5 separate regions of the Homo sapiens genome follow, and all the other regions are linked to region 4. The links are contacts of gene promoters, found by promoter capture Hi-C in blood cells and fetal thymus (Javierre and others, 2016). All regions are on one chromosome and are shown on one strand. Each heading gives the region's core, a stretch centred on a gene start or on the middle of the fragment in contact. The rest is flanking DNA. Distances are from core to core; before and after follow the strand shown.

Evidence for each region. Contacts are between HindIII fragments. The CHiCAGO score rates a contact against its expected background, and 5 or more counts as called.
Region 1: a contact is called between a fragment that was not itself captured here and the fragment with the promoter of LEPROTL1 in region 4, in 1 of 17 cell types (activated CD4 T cells). The highest score is 5.1, in activated CD4 T cells.
Region 2: a fragment that was not itself captured here is called in contact with the fragment with the promoter of LEPROTL1 in region 4 in 2 of 17 cell types (total CD4 T cells and total CD8 T cells); the score reaches 8.9 in total CD4 T cells.
Region 3: a contact is called between a fragment that was not itself captured here and the fragment with the promoter of LEPROTL1 in region 4, in 1 of 17 cell types (activated CD4 T cells). The highest score is 5.0, in activated CD4 T cells.
Region 5: a fragment that was not itself captured here is called in contact with the fragment with the promoter of LEPROTL1 in region 4 in 4 of 17 cell types (total CD4 T cells, non-activated CD4 T cells, activated CD4 T cells and 1 more); the score reaches 9.7 in total CD4 T cells.

What each region holds. Positions count from the first base shown.
Region 1 is chr8:29,529,112-29,531,811 of GRCh38, reverse strand. LOC107986935 (a long non-coding RNA gene) reads left to right here and starts at 1,468. Exons shown (of 2, transcript XR_001745860.2): 1 at 1,468-1,767; 2 at 1,900-2,513. It overlaps LOC105379350 (a long non-coding RNA gene), which reads right to left and starts at 2,196. Exons shown (of 3, transcript XR_001745859.2): 1 at 1,930-2,196. RefSeq lists enhancers at 1,908-2,157, 1,605-2,546, 1,565-2,700. The HindIII fragment of the contact is 3,667 bases long and covers 1-2,700 here.
Region 2 is chr8:29,551,490-29,554,189 of GRCh38, reverse strand. No RefSeq gene overlaps it. Among named protein-coding and RNA genes, the nearest start is that of LINC02948, 9.4 kb to the left of the region's middle. The HindIII fragment of the contact is 4,053 bases long and covers 1-2,700 here.
Region 3 is chr8:29,511,793-29,514,492 of GRCh38, reverse strand. It overlaps LOC107986883 (a long non-coding RNA gene), which reads left to right and starts at 648. Exons shown (of 2, transcript XR_001745702.1): 1 at 648-732; 2 at 2,571-2,700. The HindIII fragment of the contact is 4,538 bases long and covers 1-2,700 here.
Region 4 is chr8:30,094,095-30,096,794 of GRCh38, reverse strand. LEPROTL1 (leptin receptor overlapping transcript like 1) reads right to left here and starts at 1,387. Exons shown (of 4, transcript NM_015344.3): 1 at 1,267-1,387. The coding sequence starts at 1,282. RefSeq lists a silencer at 1,080-1,539. The HindIII fragment of the contact is 3,733 bases long and covers 1-2,700 here.
Region 5 is chr8:29,488,562-29,491,261 of GRCh38, reverse strand. No RefSeq gene overlaps it. Among named protein-coding and RNA genes, the nearest start is that of LINC02948, 72 kb to the left of the region's middle. RefSeq lists enhancers at 238-743, 999-1,058. The HindIII fragment of the contact is 9,682 bases long and covers 1-2,700 here.

The DNA of each region.
Region 1 (2,700 bases), core at 85-2,584, 560 kb after region 4:
TGTGCCACTGCATTCCAGACTGGGTGACAGAGCAAAATGTCATCTCAAAAAAAAAAAAAAAAAATTAGTGGGGACCAGAGATAGGGGATGGCAGAAGGCTCAGGGCTCCACAAGGGGACCCCATCCCACAAACACCCCAAACCTAGTAAGTTCTACTTAAATTCAGGATGTTTGGCATGAGCAAGTCCCTAATGAAAATAAAAAGTGGCTTTCAGCACCCCGAGACCCATGTTGCCCAACTGAACTGAGGTCTGTGCCTCCAGGGCAGTGAAGCCAAACATTCAAACTGAGGTTTTGTAGTGAGAGAAAGGAGGGTGTTTATTTTCAGGGCACCCAGCAAGGAGAATCAGGCAGCTCACCTGACCTTCCCAGTGGCTTGCAAGCAAGGGTTTCTAAAGGCAGGCAGGCAGAGGTTACACACAAAGTCATAAGTCAATACATGGAGGCTACATATTGGTTTGACCTTAACACACAGGATATCTTGAAGCAGGGGCTTACAGGTCACGGGGTAGGGGATTCAACAATTTTCTGATTTGCAGTTGGTTAAGGAAGGGAAGCTCTATTTAAAAATTGAGAGTCAGCATTAAAGAACGTTAGGTCTGGCCCATGGGCGTGACTTCCTTCAGGTCCTTCAAGAAAAAATGCAGAACAAGAAATAGCAGTCAGAGTTCAGTCCTCAGTTTCCCCTTTTCTGAGGTCTGCGTGCCAGCAGATCCATTTGGTAGAGGTCTGGGTTTCTGAAAAATAACTCAGGAACATATGTTAAGATGTATCTTCAGTTTCTATAGGGAACCAAACATCTCATGGCTCTAATTTTATTGCTATTGTTTTATGGTATGATTACCTTTTTACTTATGAAGTTGCTCATTAATTTCTCAGGGATAGCTAGGTGCCTGCAATTTTCCTTAAAGGAACTCAAGATTTTTATTTCCACACTGTGGAGGAGGGGTGGCGTGGCAAGCCCCTAAGAGGGAATCCTCCTCCATCTCACCCAGGCTAAACAGAGACAGAACATTCAGACAGACCAGTGGGGCAGGGGAATCTGCCGCACATCCGCTGACATACACAGATGTATACGGTATTTTCAAGTCTGATGAGAAATGGTTTGGGTATATGTCATTCCCCAGCACAGGCACCAATATCTTCCCAAGTAGTTTCCTTCCACTTTTACTAGTGCCTTCTCCCTGCCGTCCCCTCCAGGGTTCCTGCCGTTTCATGCCAATAATTTAATTACTCTCTTTGCAGAGGCTCAGTTCTACAGACAGCCTAATTTGAGGTTTGCCTTACTCTTAAATATATATATCGTTTCAATGGATTTATGAAAGGGAGAAAAGAGTGCAGAAACAATTAAGGCATCAAAGACAAGCTCATCCAAGCTCCCAAGGACAAAAAAAAAAAAAAAAAAAAAAAAAGAAAAAAATGAAGGACCCAGCCAAGGACCTCCTCTTCCCTCTGTTCGTGCTCTCTGACAGTGACCAACACCAGGCTTTCTGGTCAAACAGCCTGAGCTCCTGGGCGGATTTTCCTGGTGTTTTCAGCAGAAGGAACAGCTGTCCCGGGATTTGCTGGTATTCCCAGGGAGCTGGAACTGAATTGTTGGCCAAACTGCAGATGATTCGTTTAAGGGTCGGAATGAGAGACAGACAGGGCTTTCGGAGATAAATAATGAACTCCACGTGGGTACACCATTGAGCCGTATCCTCAAGGGTTAACAGCTTAAAGGTTATTGGGGTTTCTGGCTACACGCTAAGAGTCCTGCTTCCTAATGTAAGCTCCCCTCCCCCACATTCTTTAAACACATTACTTCCTCAAGCACTTCCTCTGGCTTAGGGGCGGGGTTGGGGGGAGAAGGATGCAAATTTATCTAATCTCTAAAAAAAACCTCTGGTATTTGTGCAGTGAGTTTCAGGCTGAAGAGAAGAGAGAGACCTGCGGCTGTTTCCGCCCACTCGTCCCAGCACAGCCACCAGAGAACGCCGCGTGGTTTGTTGTTTGGACCCTCCCAGAGCCTCTTCCAGATGCTGTTGGAAAAAAAGAAAAGAAAAGCTGGGCAGCCAGTGTCACAGCCCAGATGCCATCTCGGTCTATCCGCGGAAATGCAAGCACGCAGCGCCAAGCCCAACCCAGTAGGTGCCAGGCCCTGGGTGCAGGCTTCAGCTTCACGCCACATCCTCTCTCTCTTTTCAGTCTCTGAGTGACTTGACTCAGCCAGGGAGAGGAGATACCTACACATCCGCATGAAGGCGCGTGGGAGGAAGCCGAGAAATGACGGATGGCGCAGGGCCTACTGCAGCCGCACGTAGACTAGCTCCTTCTTTACGGGCAAAACCCCCTACTTGTCTGCAGTGGGAAAGGAGTCCGTTCAGGGCAAGCTCTGATCGCTGAGCTATGGATGTAGATGGTAACTAGGCGTCTGGAGGTCATTACACACCATATTCGGATGGTGGAAATCATTGCTTATTTCAGGACACTAAAATGGTCCATTTTTATGTATTAAAGTTATTAAGAATGAACTGGCTGGGCCGGAGTTGTGGCTCACTCCTGTAATCCCAAGACTTAAGGAGGCGGAGGCGGAGGCGGAGGCGGGAGGATCGTTTGAGGCCAGGAGTTCAAGACCAGACTGGGCAACATAGTGAGATACACACCCCACCGCCACCACCACCCCAACAAAAAACTTAACAATTAGCTGGGCTTGTGGGT
Region 2 (2,700 bases), core at 176-2,675, 540 kb after region 4:
TGTTCTGAGCTCAGAGAACACCTTAGGATGTTGCTCGTTCACATCTACTGAGCACCAGATAAATTCAACCTTTTTGAGAATTTAAAGAATTCCAAAAATTCAACTAGACTAGATTAGTTCCATATCAAGCTATTTGAATTCAATAATCTTCAGAAAAAACGATTACAATTCCAGAGAGAGAAATTGTTTTGAATTCTGGACCAGGGAACAAAGCCAAAAGTTTTGACTTGAGCCCTAAAGAGTTTCCAACTGTATTTCAATTGGAAATAAAAATGTGCTTAATTATGTCCACATCTACTTCTTTTGTAGTTTATATAATAGCTGTTTGGGGTGACTTTCCTTAGGAAACAGAGCTTGTGCCTTGATAGCTAATGAAAGGGATGCTTTAAAAAGTGTACTCACATAGACAATAGTCCCCTCTGACTTTAGACTTTTCTAAAAGTCCCTCTCTGAGTTGAATCCCAAGCTACACGTGTGCATTCTTATGCAAATAAACCAAATATCCAAACCAGGTGCACAAAACAAGAAATTCCAACACAGAAATAAAAACCTTATTTACTCACAGAATTGCAACAGTCTCAGTATTAACTGCTCTAACCTCATGAACAATCAGGTGCTGAGGGAATCAGGTGCTGGGGACTCATGGCTCATGAACTTCAGCCTGAGGAGACCATGATGATCCTAACAAGATGAGATGCCCCAAGGGACCACAATTCTGACCTTTGTCTCCACAGTCCATTGGCCGACCATCTTCTCTAGAAGAGTCCATCTTGCAAAGAAGTGCTCTTTGTTTCTCTGATGTTCTCATTGGAATCAAAAGAAAAGAAAACCTACAGACATGGTCTGTACCATGCTGCCATGGGTGACCCCCTGGTTTGCAGCCAACTGATAATCCAAAACAGTTGAGATGATGAATGTTTTAGAACACTGGTTTAAAGAAAGGCTCTTATTTTGGCCAACATGAGGCTGAAAAAAACCTAGCCAATGCCATTTTGAGACCAAATGGAAGAGCAGCAGGAATTCTGTCTGATTTAGAATGTTGTATGACACAATCTTTCATTACCTCCCACTTTGCTTACATGTTATTTATGCTTACTGAAATAATTTTTAGAGGTGAATATACTAACCATGACTATTGTCATTTATACCACAGAACCTTGAAAAAGCTCAGAAATTAGTGGTACCAGGTTACTTTGGAAGCAGAGTTAATGGTAAATAGAGTTATTTAAAAGGTTGTTGACAAGCTGTTAGGAGTTCACCTCTAATAGAATAAACTCCCACTGGACCTCTCTGCCTCAAATAATAATAATAAACTTTGAACAACTTTTTAAAAAAAATCCGAAAACACTGCAGAGTGAACAAAAGCAGGTAGATTCTGGAGGGGAGTTGCCATTTGGAATAAGGGAATGGCACAAGGTAGCAGAGTAATTTTCCCTTTTCTTCCTATTTCTTGGACCTAGGAAAGGTGGCCAGGTGGCATTGCTAAAACTCCAATAGAAAATCTGCAGTCTTTCTGGTCTGAAGAACCAGAGAAAAGAGTTCAGGGCCACTATAGCCACAACCACAGGGGAAATAAAGGGGTAATATTGGAAAGGAGGGGCCAAAGAAGGGGAGCCACAAATTAAGTGTGTAAATTCTGAGCTACTCCCTAGCTACACATGCACAGGGCAAACTGCACACATATCAGCTAAATATGCAGGAACTACAAGGAGATCTGAACTATCACCAAAAATCAGAGTTTTTAGCTTGAATCAAACCAAAGCAATTGCCTATTAAAATAAATAAATTCAACAACAACTCTCTCCCAGATTGTCCACAACATAACATTCACAACACCCAGAATACAATCCAAAATTATTCCATATATGAAGTAACAGGAAAATGCAACTCATTCTCAGGTGAAAAGATAATTAACAGAAATTGACCTTGAGATGACCCAGATGTTTGAAGTAGCAAACAAGGATTTTATGGGAGCTATTATAACTGTGCACAATGATGCAAAAGATAATATTCTTATAATGAATGAAAAGATAGGGAATCTTAGAAAAGATATAGAAACATAAGAAAAATTCTAGAACTGAGCAGTATAATATCTGAAATAAAATATTTACTAGGTAGAAGAGTAGGAAGGAGATAACAAAGGAAAGTGTCAGTAAACAAGAAAACAAATCAAGAGAAATTATGCAATTTCAAGCATAGAAAGGCAATTAAAACAATAGATCCTTTCCCTTACTCAACTTAACCAGATGACTTTCCCTCCTCCACCCCAGCAGAACACTAAAGGCTTAACATTCTCTAAAGGAGGTAAAACAGAGTCTCTGAACTTAGTGACCAAGGATAGTTGAAGATGGTAGTACAATAATAGAAACAGAAAAATTAAGTAGAAATTGACATACTAAATAGAGACAACACTCACTCCCATGCTTGCTCTTTTTCTCAAAATGTTAGCAGTAGGCTTATGCCCTCCAAGCAAGATATTAAAATATTCTACTTTGAGGAATCTTACCAACCCAGGAGAAAAGACCCAATGATATTGACAGCCAAGGTTATATTCTCCAGCCAAGTAATCCAACCATTTCCTATCTAGGAGAATATATGCCTGGTTGATTGCTTTCCAGGAACAAGATGGAGAAAGAAAACCGGGACTTGCATCATTCAGTGTGCGAACTTCCATAAAATACTTCCGCTTGTTAGCCCTAA
Region 3 (2,700 bases), core at 23-2,522, 580 kb after region 4:
AGGCCAGAGCTTTAAAACCAAATGCACAGAGAGAAGAATGAAAGTGTTTCCCATGGGCCTTAGAATGTCAGGAAGAACTGTCCACCATGCACGCTGTCTTCATGGATGGTAGTCTGAGGACAGTATGCCAGCACCAGGATCTCCTACAAGAGCTGCATCCGCCTGCTACAAGGTCCAACTTCTGGGATTCACCAGGTTAGTTCAGAAGAGCTTTTGTTTTTTGCTTTTGTTTTGAGAGGGAGTCTCGCTCTGTTGCCTCGGCTGGAGTACAGTGGCATGATCTCGGCTCCTGGGTTCAAGCGATTCTCCTGCCTCAGCTTCCCAAGTAGCTGGGACTACAGGTATGCACCACCACACCCAGCTCATTTTTGTATTTTTAGTAGAGATGGGTTTTCACTCTGTGTTGGCCAGGCTGGTCTCAAACTCTTGACCTCAGGTGATCCACCTGCCTTGGCCTCCCAAAGTGCTGGGATTACAGGCAAGAGCCACTGCGCCCAGCCCAGAAGAGCTTTGGATGTCTTCCAATAGCGTTGTTTTAAGAGTTTGGCAGATACATTTCAGGGTCACAGAGAGACATCACAATAGCCTCTAGTAAGCAGAATAGGGGTGTCAGCACAGAGGGTCATGTAACCTGAACAGATGAGGCTCTGGAAGGAAGCAGGCTGTGCATTCCCTGACAGCCCTTTCCCTGAGGGGATGAAGCAGAAAGGTGAAGGAAACATCCCATGGAAAGTAAGACTTAATGAGCCTTTCTGTGAAGGGCGGGGAAGAATGAGCCTGACAACACTGAGGCTGGGAGAGAGGACAGCCCATGAGAAGTGAGGTCCATTCCAGGCAGCAGAAGTTCAGTGTGACCAAAGTACAGAATTATAGAGTGGGAAGCCCCAGGGGTTAGAGATGAGGCTGTGAGGCAGGCCCTGCAAAGCATGTTGGGAAGTTTAGACTTCACTCGAGATGCCATGGGGTACAGCTGCAGGGTAAAGCCGGTGAGTGATAAGAACAAATATGCAATCCAGAAGATTATGCAAGCCAAGAAATGGACTAAAAGAGTGAGTCACCAGTAAGAGGAGATGAGCTAGGAGGCCAGACAGGAGAAAATGGTAGCCAGGGTGAGAATAAGAGAAGAAAGTGAATAGAAGAAACAAAGGATCTCATAATGCTCAGAGGCACTGTCAGCAAGACCCGAGGGTTCATTTGTTTGATGGAGGCAGGAAAGGTGAAAGACAAAGAGAGAAGAGAGAGTAAACACTTCATGATGATTCCAGCACTATTTATTGGGAGCAGAGAGATACTGGGACCATTTTGGACTTCTGAGTTTGGGTTCCTGGGACATCCAAGCAGAGGTGTCCAGTAGGCAAGTGACTAGCAAGCCTGGAGCTCATTCAGGACACTTCCCTTCTCCCCATCAAGTTAATTTTGCTCTTCTGTCACCTCTTTATATTTCCCTCCCGGTGACATATAACCATCACCAGAAAATTCTCTAGGGAAAGCTAATGCCATAGGCAAATGCCCAGTGGTATGCTGGTAAATGTTGACAATTGCTTATTCCCATCCCACCGTCCCTCAAAAAGCCCTGATTTGCAGCATTTGCCAGTTTCCATGGTGTCAATATTGTCTGTATGGCCAGGTTCAAGACACCAATGTGACATCACTGCATGTGGAATTGGGAAGAGATGTGTAGAACCAGAGTTCACAAGCCTGAGTGAACCAGTTCCACAAACCAAGGCACACACCCATCAAACCCAAAATAAATAACACCCCAAGGCAGAGTGCAAGACACACTGACCCATCAGGCCAATCCAAGTGACCTCTGCTCTCGAAGACCTGTGTCGTACAAAAGTCCTAGAAAAAAATAATTCTATGGGTGCCTGGGAATATCATAGACCTTAAGTGAAATTGAGCTGAACCCTAGTTTGATCCCTGTTCTCTAAAGGAAGGATCAGCACTTTACAACCTCAAAGTCAAATTTGGCCAGCAGCCTGACTTTAAAGTCAGCCTGCTAAGAATAATTTTTACATTTTTTAACTAATTTTTTTTTTTAGACACAGAGATCTCACTGTGTCATGCAGGCTAGAATGCAGTGGGGCGATAATAGCTCACTGCAGCCTCAAACTTGTAGGCTCAAGCAATCCTCCCACCTCAGCCTCTCAAGTAACTGGGACATATAGGTGTATGCCACCATGCCTGCTATTTTTTATTTTTATTTTTTTATTAAGAGACAAGATCATGCTATATGGCCCAGACTGGTCTTGGACTCCTGGCCTCACCTGATCCTCCTGCTTCGGCTTCCCAAAGTGCTGGGATTACAGGCATGAGCCACTGTGCCCAGACAGTTTTTACATTTTAAAATGGTGGCATTTTTAAATAGTTCTGTAAGTACCTATATAATATCCTTGATTTTGCCTGTTAGCACACAACCCCCAAAGCCTAAAATATTTACCACCTGGCCCTTTAAGAAAAAGTGTGGTGACTACTGTTTTAAAGAGCCCTGAAGACAAAGCCAGATCTGCTTCCTAATGCCTCCTGGGCACCACCAAAGCAAGTACTTTTTTTTTCCTCTCCTCTCCCAGGCCATCTCCAAGCTCCTCAGATTGGGAAAACACATATCGAAATCAGGAGGCCAGATTGAATTAGCCTCTCCACTCTCAGGCTCCTTTGCCACTTGCTCCATCCAGGGCTCATCCTGGGCTTCTCTGTCTG
Region 4 (2,700 bases), core at 138-2,637:
AGGCACCTTCATCAGTTTAATGCAGTATTTCCCTAGGTCTGGAGAAGTAAATTACAAAGCTATTTTCTTAAGAGACCCCCGCATTATTGACACTGAAGAAACAGGGAAGAACAGGGAAACGGGCAACATCCTAAAAACCACAGCAATTCACAATAACTGCCTTTCACATAAGGGTTTAGAGTCTATCATAGTTCAAAAGGAGATTACAAAGTATCCCAGTTGCTTAAATGACAAGGTTTTATATGGGAAATGAAATGTTTTCAGACATTGAAAATAAACAAGAAACAGTAAGACTGTGACCCTGAAAAAAAACTCGATTAAGTTTTCCTTAGAGAAGAAAAAATACAAAGAAAACCACTGCTCCCAAAGTTACCTGCTTCCTGCCTGACTGCCCTTCTACAGAGCGGCAGGTCAAGAAATCAATGTAATTAGTTAAGCAGTAGCTGAAAACTTTGCTTCTCATCACACTGACAACAAAACTACCTAACAGGTGGAACAAATGCAACATTCCTTTTTTTAAAAGAAAATACATGAATAAGCCAGTAGTTTTTCATTAAGTTGTACCAGTATTTTATCTTCTTAAAAAAAAAAAAGGAAAAAAAGAAAAATTTTGAAATTTGAAAAAGCCTCAGGGTGCAACTGCGGAGAGGGAAGAGAGCCAGGAGCACTTTGGGGTCGCCTACAGGATCAACTCTAGGGTCCAGACACCGCAGATGAAAATGCACCCGTTTCGGGAGCCTGTAAAGCCTCGGGCGCGGGCGGCCGGGGTGGACGTGGGGTCGAGGTTTCGGGCAGACCCGTGCAGCGCCCGCAGACCGCACTTGTGCCTTTCGGTGGGAAATGACTGGTTTTCCATAGCTGGCATCTCTAGCAGCCTCAGCCTTCTCAATCCCACGCTCTGCCTGCCTCTCTCTCGGATGCAAACTCCTGCAAAACGTGTGTGGCCGTCCAAGTCGCGACGGGACTCCTCACTGACCGCCAACCACTTCATATTTTGTCCGGGGGGCGATGGGTGGGAGAGAGGCTGCCGAAATCGGCAGAAAGTGGGGGCTGCGGGGCGAAGCCGGGGTCGCAACCGTCCGTTGCCCGAGGGCGCCGCGCCCACCTCCGGGCCAAGCGCAGGGCCGGGGCGGGGGTCGCTTCCCCGGCGCAGGGACCCCACGCGCGCGCGCGAGCCCGGAGGGGAAGTGCGGGGGCCGCGTGGGACCCCCGGCCCATCTTCCCCCGCCGGCCCCAGCCCTCCCGCGTCCTGCAACCCAGGCCCACCTTTGATGCCTGCCATGGCGGTGACGTCGCTCCTGGCTCCACGACCCGAGGCGGCGGCGGCAGCAGCGGCAGCCGGGAGACCCAAGACGCGCTACGGCGGCCAGACAACACCCGGAAGTGCGCGACGCAGCACTTCCGCCGGCGACTCGGGCTCGCGCGGGGGCGCGGGGGACGCGCCGGGCTGGGCTGTGGGGTCGACCCCCTGCCTCTCTTCTCCGCGGGTGTGCAGATCGCCGCCGGCCGAGGCTTGCCGCCGCCGCCCCGACTGGGGGAATGAGCAGGCGCCAGGTCTTGAATTCCTGTCAGGGCCGGTCTGGGGGCTCCCTGCTGAAGCCCCTGTCCCTGATCCCGCAACCTCCCGCGTGCGTTGGGAAGGGGTCGCGGGTAGCGGCCGTCCTTTGGATGCACGTGTGATGGCTTTTGGCTTAATTTCACATTGTTTTGTTTGTTTTTTGAGACAGGGTCTCTTTCGCCCAGGCTGGAGTGTGATCACGGCTACTGCAGCCTCGATCTCCAGGGCTCAAGTGATTCTCTCACGTCGGCCTCGCAGTAACTGGGACCACAGACATGAGCCACCATGCCTGGCTTTTTTTTGTTTTGTTTTGTTTTGTTTTTTGTAGAGACAGGGCGGGGTGTGAGACTCTCATCTTGTTGCCCAAGCTGGTCTCCTGAGCTCAAGGATCTGCCCTCCTCGGCCTCCCAAAGCGCTGGGATTACAGCTTGATACCCTACCTTGTTTTAACCTGATTGACTCGCTCTTAGCTGAGAGAGCGGGACAGACTCCATTTTGGTTTCTTCGCTTGCAGCACCTTGTCCCCCTCCCTTAAGGACATAACTGGTGCAGACTGACACCAAGCACATCCAGGAATGTGCTTACTGATAAGATACTGAGGCAAGCTGTACCAGCAGCTCCTGGGAACGCGCTCGGTTGATGGTACCCAAAGCCCCTGCGTTTATCTCTTTGTGATAATTTAAGCCCCATGCACCTGGAACTGTTTATTTTCCTGTAACTGTTTCTATAACCATTTATCTTTTAACTCTTTGCCTGTTCTGCTTCTGTAAAAATTGCTTCAGCTAGACTACCCCTTCCCTATTTAGACCAAGGTATAAAAAGAAATCTAGCCCCTTCTTCAGGGCCGAGAGAATTTTGAGCTGTAGTCGTCTCTCGGTCGCCGGCAATAAAGGACTCCTGAATTAGTCTCAAAGTGTGGTGTTTCTCTATAACTCGCTCGGTTACGACAACAGGTGTGAGCCACTGCGCACATTATTTTACTGCGCCTTTTCCTCTCTCCCTCCATCCCTCCATCCCCAGTCCTATAATTAAGGTTAGTTGGGTGGTCTGCACTTGGCTCCTTGGTTTCCTATACAGGACTAGGGTTCTGGTGAGGACCCACCTCCAGAGATAGGAGCAGCAGGGCTCAGTAAAGGGTGGAT
Region 5 (2,700 bases), core at 136-2,635, 610 kb after region 4:
AGTGCCTGAGTTCTACTCATCATTCTAGCAAATTATCAAACCCAAGGAGGAGATCAGGAACCCTAACTTATAGCTGGTCACTCAGCATCCTGAGTCCCTGGGAGTACAGGCCTGGACTCCTGATTGGTGTCTGAAGTGGGGGGTGCAGTCTTGTGAGACTGAGCCCTGAACTCATGGGATCTGATGCTAACTCCAGGTAGATAGTATCAGAATTTAATGAAATTGTAGGACTCCTAGCTGGTATTCAGAAAATTGGAGACTTGCTTGGGGTGGAAAAAAAAAAAAAACCAACCCACACATCTATTAGAAGTGTTGTGTGAGGGTAAAGAGCAACTGTGTTGTTCTCTAGGCAGAGAATTCCTGGAGACAAAAACGAATTCCTGGAGGGAAGGATAAGCACAGTTGAAGAGTGAGAGGACTTGCTGGTGTTTAACTTGACGGCCCCATTCGTACTGATAAGAACAATGTCAGCACTGTTATTCATATTTGCTGTGATGGAGGGGCCAGATCAAGTGCTGAGGCTGACAAGAGGAAGCCAGCTGAGCTTCTGTGCAGAACTGCAGAGGCCCTGCTGTGGTTGGAGACCACAGATTTGCAGTCACACCCACCTGCCTTTCCTCCAACAGGGCTGCTGTTAGAAGGAATTGTTGCAAGGTCCAGCATTTGCACCCCCAAACCGCCACACAAGTACAGGCTGGTTAATGTGTTATTTTAGCAGGAGCTCGTGAGAGACAGACCTCAGAGTGTCTGCTAAGATAAATGAGTGGTCTAGTCACAATGGTGCACAGAAGTTCATGCTTCCTCACACCCACTCTGTACTGAACACATAAAAATGAGAGATAGAATATCAGAAGAGGAACCCACTAAGACACAGGTGGTCTCAGAAACAAGCTAAAGATCTCCAAAAGCCAGATGCAGATCCAAACCAAAGCAGTGTGTGGAACTGAAGCCTTCAGCCTGCAGGGTTCTGGGGCCAGAATCAGGCTGCTGAGAGGTCAGCTGCTTGAATAACAGGGACTCAACCTGTTCCTGCTTGAGGCTGAGAGGGAATCAGGCCTGACGCCACTCAAGAGGCAGCTGAAAAAAATGGCACCTGCCCAATGCCTGGGACTGTTTTAGGGAAAACAGAGGGAAAGATTCAGCCTCAGTTCCAGGACCTGTGTCCGCCACCTGCTGACCGGGACATTGGACCTGCCACATCCCCAAATCCCAGGGTGTAGAGAAAAGTCCCACCCAAATGACTATAGATGGGGTCCTGGTCCTAAGTTGAGGCCACTCAATCTTGCTGAACAGAGATGAAGACAGTAGCAGATGGGAGGCCATGGCATGTTTGAGCAATAGCAAGGGGGCCAGAGTGGGGAAGGCAGAGAAAATTCAGGGCAGTGTTAGGAGAGGAGGTGGAGGAGGAGCTGAGGATACATCATGCTGGCCCCTGAAGACAGCAGTGCTTGGGATTGGGATCCCAATGCAAAGAACAGCAGAATTTTTTTTTTAAGGAGGAAAGCACATCTGGACTAGAGAACTGTGAAGTGAATGCAATGGTTTGAAGTTGTTTTCTTTGGGCCCTCCAAGTTGAAATTTAATTCACAATGTTGCAGGTGGGGTCTGGTGGGAGGTATTTGGATTGTGGGGGTAGATTCTTCATGAATGGCTTGGTTCCATTCTCGCTGGAGGGAGCAAGTGAATTCTCACCCTTAGTTTCCATGAAAACTAAACATGGTGGTTGAACAGAGCCTGGCAACTCTTCCTTCCATTCTCTTGCTTCCTCTCTGATCTTGTGATCTTTGCACACTAGCTACTCTTCACCCTCTGCCATGAATGGAAGCAACCTGAGGCCCTCATCAGACATAGATCCTGGCGCCATGCTTCTTGTACAGCCTGCAGAACCGTGAGCCAAATAAACCTCTTTTCTTTATAAATTGTCAAGCCTAGGATATTCCTTTAGAGCAACACAAATGGACTAAGACTGTTAATATAGGAAAACTATTAAGCCAGTTTATCCAGGAATCCATTTTGAAAATGGACAATGGAGAAAAAATTTCTACTAAATATTAAAACATAAAGCCACAGTAAACAAAATAATGTCATATTAAAACATTATTAGGCCAGGCACGTTGGCTCACGCCTGTAATTCCAGCTCGTTGAGAGGCTGAAGTGGGTGGATCACCTGAGGTCAGGAGTTTCAGACCAGCCTGGCCAACCTGGTGAAACCCCATCTCTACTAAACATACAAAAATTAGTCCAGTGTGGTGGCAGTTGCCTGTAATCCCAGCTACTCGGGAGGCTGAGGCAGGAGAATTGCTTGAACCCAGGAAGCAGTGGTTGCAGTGAGCCAAGATTATGCCATTGCACTCTAGCCTGGATGACAAGAGTGAGACTCCATCTCAAAAAAACACAAAAAACAAAAAATATTATTAAGCAGACAGTTCAAGGTAACAGGCCTAAAATTCCAGAAATAGATGTAAATGTATTTAGTATAGGACAAAGTGGCATTTCAAATCTGGGGTAAAAATATATATTTGCAATACCCCAAACAATCACTGGTATAGTATTAAAAGCAAATCTGATTATGTCACACTTTTCTTAAAGTGGTTTACAATTGCTTTTGGGGTAAAACCCAAAGTTCTTGGCCTATAATATGAGGCTTCCCATCATCAAGAGCCTAACTACATTTATAACTTCTTCTCCTATACATTATCT